Linked DNA regions of Homo sapiens: region 1 is linked to region 2. The links are contacts of gene promoters, found by promoter capture Hi-C in human tissues and cell types (Jung and others, 2019). All regions are on one chromosome and are shown on one strand. Each heading gives the region's core, a stretch centred on a gene start or on the middle of the fragment in contact. The rest is flanking DNA. Distances are from core to core; before and after follow the strand shown.

Region 1 (3,930 bases), core at 1,209-3,708, 42 kb after region 2:
CCAAGCCTCCTCTGCAGTTCAGTAGAGAATGTGGGCAGGAGTGACGTGTTACGTTTCTGGGGCTGACCCACAAATATCTCCCCCATAACTCTCCATGCCCTCATCCCTCTCACCTGCTGGACTGATCCAGTGGAATATTATGAGGCCTGGGAGGATGGTGGGGCCACTAGATGGAAATAGCCTGGATCCCTAAATGACTGCGTGGAGTAGAGCATCTGCCCAGGCAGCCTGGGCAATAACAGGAATGAGAAGTAAGCTTTTACTGTGTGTCCCCATCTTGCCCACAATAAAGCCTCTTGCCCAGAGCTCCCTGTGTTCCCTCTGCCTCCTGACCTACCCTGGTGAGTCCCTGTGTGGTCTCCATAGTATGGCATGTCCCCTCCTCTTGGAATTTGTAAGTACAACAACCTTCCTAATAACTGTCATCTCAGGATCTCTTGGTTTTACTATACCCAAATAATAATAAAGCCTGTGTTAAAATATTGTCCCAGGACCACAGGCCCTTGTATACTGTTCAATGCACACATCCGGATGCCTTTCCCAAAAGTGGGTACCATGTGGAAGAGGAGATGATGCAGAGAGGCCTGCAGCCTCAGATCTGAGGCTCAGATTCCTCTCCTCCTCCCTCACCCCTCCTTTCTCATCTCTAGCCCAGACCCACCTAACTGAACAGCCAAGATATGGTGGTGATCATTTGGAGCCTTGTCCAGAATCCAGACACAGCTGCAGTCCTGCACATCACCCCACCTGGCACTGTGAAGATCTGGCTGTGTCTCAAAAAAACCCCACCAGATCTGGCCGGGAGCAGTGGCTCATGCCTATAATCCCAGCACTTTGGGAGGCCAAGGTGGGCAGATCACTTGAGGTCAGGAGTGCGAAACCAGCCTGGCCAACATGGTGAAACCCCGTCTCTACTAAAAATACAAAAAAAAAAAAAAAAAAAAAAGCAAGGTGTGGTGGTACACGCCTGTAGTCCCAGCTACCTGGGAGGCTGAGGTGGGAGAATCGCTTGAACCCGTGAGGTAGAGGTTGCAGTGAGCCGAGATGACACCATTGCACTCCAGCCTGGGCGACAAAGCAAGACTCTGTCAGAAAGGAAAGAGAGAGAGAGAGAAAGAAAGAAAAGGAGAAACCACCAGATCACCCACAAATGGACAGGAAGCAGAGAAGGGCTTTGGCCAGGCGGAGGTTGGTCTCTGCTCTGCCACTCTTTGCCTGGAAAACCCTGAAAAGGTATTTTTTCCCTCTGAGCCTGTTTCCCCGTCTGTAAACTGTTTCCCCATCTGTAAACAAAGAGAGGTGATGATATTCAAGAGGCTTAAAAACAGCACAGTGCGGCCGGGCATGGTGGCTCATGCCTGTAATCCCAGCACTTTGGGAGGCTGAGACAGGCAGATCAGCTGAGGTCAGGAGTTCAAGACCTGCCCAGCCAACACAATGAAACCCTGTCTCTACTAAAAACATGAAAAGTAGCCGGGTGTGGTGGCAGGCACCTGTAATCCTAGCTACTTAGGGGACCATGGCAAGGAGAATCAGTTGAACCCGGGAGACAGAGGTTGCAGTGAACTGAGATCGTGCCATTGCACTCCAGCCTGGGCAACAGAGCAAGATTCTGTTTCAAATAAATAAATTAATTCATTAAATAAAATAAACAACACAGCCCAACCAAGCAGAATGGGGTGGGGTGGGGGTCTTGAGCCATGAACAATCTGGGCCGAGCTGTCCCGCATTGGTGGATGATGACAAGGACTAAGTGAAATTCCTGGGTCCGGGGTGAGCCACTGTGATGATTCTCACCCAGGTCACTGTCCAGAGGCTGCATTCTTGGCCAATTCTCTTGGAGGTCCGCCAGCTCCTCGTGGCACCAGCTGGGAAGAGGAAGGAGGGAAGGAGATGGGCAGGAGAGGAGGTGGAAGAAGGGCGGGTTTCATTCTCAGGCTCTGAAGCCCAGGGCTGGTGAGGCAGGGGTCGGGCACTCACTCAGTAAGTCACAAAGCAGGTCTGGGAGCCTGCGAGGGTCCCTTCTCCCCAACATGTCATTGCCACAGTGCTGCAGATCCCAGGCGTCCTCTGCAGGACCAGGGAGTAAGGGAGGCACCAGCCCCGGGCCACACACCCTTACTGGCCGGGCTGTGCCTGTCCCTGCTACTTGGACTTAGTAGCCTTGACCCTGTCCTTGGGAAAGGCTTTGAGCCCTTCCATGATTACATCATCATCCCTGGAGGAACACTGCAAAGTCTTAGCTCCCCTCCTTCCAGTCATCCCTGCCAGGCTCTGGCTGCCCCGTGGTCACCCGGCCACACTCCCAGACTTCTCCAGGGCAGTAAAGAACTCAAGCTAAGTCTTGAAGAGGTAGAACCTAGAATGATAATTTTCAATTTTTAGATCATGACCAACGGATAAAAGTCACAACCAGCACAATTTTTAAAAAATGAAATTCAATAGAAAACATCAGAGTGCACTGCACACAGCAACGGGTAAACATTGCTGCAGAAATTCTACTTTCAGGTGTATTGATTGTTGTGTAAAATACATTTCTTTTTTTTTTTTTTTTAGATGGAATCTTACTCTCTCACCCAGGCTGGAGTGCAATGGCACAATCTCAGCTCACTGCAATCTCTGCCTCCCAGGTTCAAACAATTGTCCTGCCTCACCCTCCCGAGTAGCTAGGATTACAGTCGCCCGCCACCACACCTGTCTAATTTTTGTATTTTTGTAGAGACAGGGTCTCACCATGTTGGCCAGGCTGGTCTTGAACTCCTAACCTCAGGTGATCCACCCACCTCGGCCTCCCAAAGTGCTGGGAGTACAGGTGTGAGCCACCGCACCCGGCCAGAATGCATTTCTTACTCAGACTATGGTTACAAAATGTAGAGAAACATTGGCCTTGAAGTTCATAGCACATACCCAGAAAGATTTTGCAACCTTCTGAACCTATTCAGATTCCGCACGCCATCTTCAGGGAGCGGCACTCTTATTTCACCAGCTGCCAGACCCAAGAGCCTGGCCTTGTCCTGGACTCCTGTCTCTCCCCATTTCTCACACCAAATCCAGTCCAGCAGCAAATCCTTTTATCTTTCCTTCAAAGGACATTCAGAACACGCCTGACTTCTGCCATCATCCCTCAGACAGGATCATCCCGCAGCTGGGTTATCACTCCTCCACCTTCGAGACAGCAGAACCCTAAGAGAGCGCACTGCACATAACAGGTGTTAGGCTGGGCGTGGTGGCAAACACCTGTAATCCCAGCACTCTGGGAGGCTGAGGCAGGAGGATCACTTGAGCCCGGGAGTTCAAGACCAGCCTGGGCAACATAGTGAAACTCTGTCTCTATTAAAAAAATAAAAATAAAAAAATTAGCTGAGTGTGGTGGTGTGCACCTGTAATCCCAGTTACTTAGGAGGCTGAGGCAGTAGGAATGCTTGAGTGTAGGCGTTGGAGGCTGCAGTGAGCTATGATGGCACCACTGCACTCCAGCCTGGGCAACAGAGTGAGACCCTGTCTGAAAGAAAGGAAGAAAGAAAGAAAGAAAGAAAGAGAGAGAGAGACAGAGAGAGAAAGAAAGAAAGAGAGAGAAAGAGAGAGAGAAAAAAGAAAGGAAAGAAAGAAAGAAAGAAAGAAAGAAAGCAAGAAAGAAGGAAAGAAAGAAGGAGAAAGAGAGAGAGGGAGGGAGAGAGGGAGGGAGGGAGAGAGGGAGGGAGGGAGGGCTGCATGCAGTAGGCGCTCATCTGTGGATTGACTGGTGGCAGGGCTGGGCTTGGAGATTGCTTGGCCAGCCTCCTCCCTCTGTCCCCCTCCAGCCTGCCCAGAGCCTGTTATTTGATCTCCCCCAACATGGGCTCCTCGCCTCCCCTCCTCCAGGTCTCCAGACTCTGAGGTTTGTAAGCTGAGCCTGGCAGCCACACACGGTGCCGCCCCTGGGCTGGTAGA
Region 2 (4,092 bases), core at 1,479-3,978:
TCCACCCAACCCAGCCTCGTTATGCCCCATTTCCCTTCTCTGCTCTAATTTTTCACAGCACTAATCACTTTTTAACACACACACACTTATTATGTTTACTGTTCATCATGACAGAAGCACATTACAGGCTAGTTTGAAGTGTATACACTAATACAACCGTTTCATTCTTTTTTTTACTTGTTTTCTTTTTCTTTTTCTTTTTTTTTTTTTTTTTTTTTTGAGACAGGGTCTCGATGTGTAGCCCAGGCTGAAGTGCAGTGGCATGATCACAGCTCACTGCAGCCTCAACCTCCCAGGCTCAAGCCATCCTCCCACCTCAGCCTCCCAAGTAGCTGAGACTACAGGTGCACACCACTATTTGCAGCTACTTTTTAAATTTTTTGTAGAGACGGGGTTTCACTGTGTTGCCAGCGCTGGTCTCAAACTCCTGGGCTCAAGAGATCCTCCTGCCTCGGCCTCCCAAAGTGCTGGGATTACAGGTGTGAGCCCCCATGCCAGGACCCATTTAATTCTTTTCTGCATTTGTGGAGAGGATTCTAAGAGGGTCAAAAGGAGGTTTTATTTATTTTATTTATTTAAGACAGCTTCTCACTCTGTCGCCTAGGCTGGAGTGCAGTGGTGAGGTCTCAGCTCACTGCAACCTCTGCCTCCCTTGTTGAAGTGATTCTCATGCCTCAGCTTCCCGAGTAGCTGGGATCACAGGCATGCGCCACCATGCCCGGCTAATTTTTGTATTTTCAGTAGAGACGGAGTTTCGCCATTTTGGCCAGGCTGGTCTCACACTCCTGACCTCAAGTGATCCGCCTGCCTCAGCCTCCCAAAGTTCTGGGATTACAGGCGTGAGCCATCATGCCCGGCCTGGAGGTTTTATATTTAATTATTTCCCTGATACTACGTAATTTGCTCATTATGCCAACTGTTTATCATGTCTCTCCCTCTAGAAGGTAAGTTCTTTGTGGGGAAGAATCCATGTCTGGTTTTGTTTGTTGATGTCTTAAACTATGTATACAGCTCACGTTATGTCGAAGCCAAATAAAATATAGAGATATAGAGACAAATCTCTCGATTTAAAATGTTTTGTTGCGGTGGCTCATGCCTGCGATCCCAGCACTTTGGGAGGCTGAGGCGGGCAGATCACCTGAGGTCGGGAGTTTGAGACCATCCTGGCCAACATGGTGAAACCCCGTCTCTACTAAAAATACAAAAATTAGCTGGGCATGGTGGCATGCGCCTGTAATCCCAGCTACTCGGGAGGCTGAGGCAGGAGAATCGCTTGAACCCATGAGGCGGAGGTTGCAGTGAGACGAGATTGCATCACTGCCCTCCAGCCTGGGCGACAGAGCGAGACTCTGTCTCAAAAAAATAATAAAATGTTTTATTTGGGAAGCAAGAATTGACATTCGAGGCATCCACACAGACCAGGCGGTCTTCAGAACTTTCAAAGAACAAAGAGGTTAGAGGTTTTTATAAGAAACAGAAATGTTAGGTATTGTTTTGCAAGAAAGTTCATTGACACTAGCAACGTTCTGGGGAGCTGGCAAGTTCTGACTGGTAAGTGACAGCAGAGGGAAAAACTAGTCTTAGAGTCACGGCAGGTTTTTTCAGTACCAGTTAGACTGCTTCCAGGTTACAACAGGCAGTTTTAACAGCCAGGCTTGCAGAGAATCACTTTCTTGGAGCAATGGTATCTGCCCTAAGTGTTTTCCCCCCGGCCTCTCAACTTTGTTTTAGTTGGATATGACAAGAAGGATCCAATTCACATGATCAACTTTCACAATTTTTTTTTTCTGTTTGTTTTTTGAGACGGAGTCTCACTCACTCTTTTGCACAGGCTGGAGTGCAGTGGTGCAATCTCTGCTCACTGCAACCTCCCCCTCCCGGATTCAAGCAATTCTCCTGCCTAAGCCTCCAAATTAGCTGGGATTACAGGCGCGTGCTACCACGCCCAGCTAATTTTTGTATTTTTAGTAGAGACGGGGTTTCACCATGTTGGCCAGGCTGGTCTCGAACTTCTGACCTCAAGCGATCCGCCTGCCTTGGCCTCCCAAAGTGCTGGGATTACGGGCATGAGTCACCGCACCCAGCCACAATTGTATTTTTATTGGACAGAGCTGATCTAGAGGTTAAAATGAGGAATTCCGGAGCTAGGCTGGCTGGATTCAAATCCCTACTAGCTGGTGATCATAGACAAGCCACTTGGCCTCTGCTGGTCTCAGTTTTTTCACCTGTGAAGTAAAGGGCATAACAGCACCTACTTCATGGGGTTGCCACCCTGGCTGGCAGTAAAACCGTCCATAAAAGTTGGCTGGTGTTACTATTGGTTGCATTAATTTTTAGCAGCCGGAGCCTGTTTTCTCCTGTGAAATGAAGATAACCACGCCCGACCTTAAAGGTGATGGAAATTTTTTAACACGTTAACGGATACGAGGCCTCCCACTCAGAAGCCTGACCAAAATAACAATGGTTGCTCAGAGCCAGACGTCTCATTGCTACTAACGAATTAGGGACACTTCAAGGGGCCGGCTGGAGGGGACGGCTGTGAGCAGCAGGCCTTGGCTCCTGGCTGCACCTGGCCCCGTCGCGGGAAGCAGGTTGGGTTTGGAGAGCGGGAGGGAGCAGGCGGGAGGGGCTGGCGAGTAAGAAAGAGGATGCAGGGGTGGGTGAAGCTGGCTAGTAAGAGGGGAGGGGCCGGCGAGTAAAAAGGACGCAGAGGGGCGTGGGGAGCTTGCGGCACAGCTAGGGCATCCCGGCGAGGAGCGCCGCCAGGCCCCGGGGTAGGACTTGGGGTGCGGTGTCGGTGCGGCCGCCGAGGGGGGCTGATTGCATGCAATTCGGGGCATACACACAGACCGCGGGGTCTCCGGGATATCGGGGCTATCAAGGACGGGCTGGGGGATGGGGACTTGGGGACGGGGCCCAGGGATGGTGAAGACGGGGGTGCGGCTGGCAGAATCAGGGCAGGCAGAGGCTGCGCGCCGCGGAGGCTGCTGGTCCCTGACGCCTTGACCCTTCCTCTCCCGCAGCCACAGCCGGGCCTGGCGGGGGGACCATGGGCGCCTCGGTCTCCAGGGGCCGGGCCGCCCGGGTCCCCGCGCCGGAGCCGGAACCCGAAGAGGCGCTGGACCTGAGCCAACTACCCCCAGAGCTGCTTCTGGTGGTGCTGAGCCACGTCCCCCCGCGCACGCTGCTCGGGCGCTGCCGCCAAGTGTGCCGGGGCTGGCGAGCCCTGGTGGACGGCCAGGCCCTGTGGCTGCTGATCCTGGCCCGCGACCACGGCGCCACCGGCCGCGCGCTGCTGCACCTCGCCCGCAGCTGCCAGTCTCCCGCCCGTAACGCCAGGCCTTGCCCCCTGGGCCGCTTCTGCGCGCGCAGACCCATCGGACGCAACCTTATTCGCAACCCCTGCGGCCAAGGTGGGATCTCGGAAGAGGAAGTCCAGGATGCTGGGCCACAGTGGGAGCGGTAGCGGGGCCGGAGGGGCGGGGCCGCACTGGGACCGGTACTAGGGGCCGCAGGGGCAGGGCCGCAGTGGGACCGGTGGGAGGAGTCGGAGAGGCGGGGCAGCATTGGGAGCCGGTGTGAGGTGCCGGAGGGGCGGGGCAGCATTGGGAGCCGGTGGGAGGTGTCGGAGGGACGAGGCAGCATTGGCACGCAGGGTGCAGGGCTGACTGGGCAGGGCTTCACCGTTTGCCTGTGGGAGGGGTGGGAGTGGGGCAGTTCTGGGAGCCCGAGAGAGGGGTTGGAGGGGCAGGGCTTTGCTGCAAATCAGTGAGAAGGGCCAGAGGAGCGGGGCTTTGCCCTGAGCTGGTGGGAGGGGAAGGGGGCGGGGCCTCGGTGGGAAGGGTCAGGTGAGTGAGCTGCACTGTGAGCACGTGGGAGGGGCTAGGGGCGGGGTCTCACTAGGAACCAACAGGCGGGCGACTGGAACTTGGGCACAAGCCTTTTTTATTTCACAGAAGGCCTCCGAAAGTGGATGGTGCAACACGGTGGGGACGGCTGGGTGGTGGAGGAAAACAGGACAACCGTGCCTGGGGCCCCTTCTCAGACGTGCTTCGTGACTTCATTCAGGTGAATGCCCCTGCTATCCAAAGG

What was found. Contacts are between HindIII fragments. The study calls those that stand out against the background at their distance.
Region 1: a fragment that was not itself captured here is called in contact with the fragment with the promoter of FBXO27 in region 2 in 1 of the 25 tissues and cell types used here (hippocampus).

What each region holds. Positions count from the first base shown.
Region 1 is chr19:38,989,388-38,993,317 of GRCh38, reverse strand. No RefSeq gene overlaps it. Among named protein-coding and RNA genes, the nearest start is that of FBXO17, 16 kb to the right of the region's middle. The HindIII fragment of the contact is 7,056 bases long and covers 1-3,930 here.
Region 2 is chr19:39,031,185-39,035,276 of GRCh38, reverse strand. It overlaps FBXO27 (F-box protein 27), which reads left to right and starts at 2,728. Exons shown (of 6, transcript NM_178820.5): 1 at 2,728-2,774; 2 at 3,024-3,413; 3 at 3,957-4,068. The coding sequence starts at 3,050. RefSeq lists silencers at 2,950-3,019, 3,080-3,229, 3,430-3,509, 3,660-3,899, 3,749-3,931 and enhancers at 2,841-3,633, 4,040-4,092. The HindIII fragment of the contact is 13,585 bases long and covers 1-4,092 here.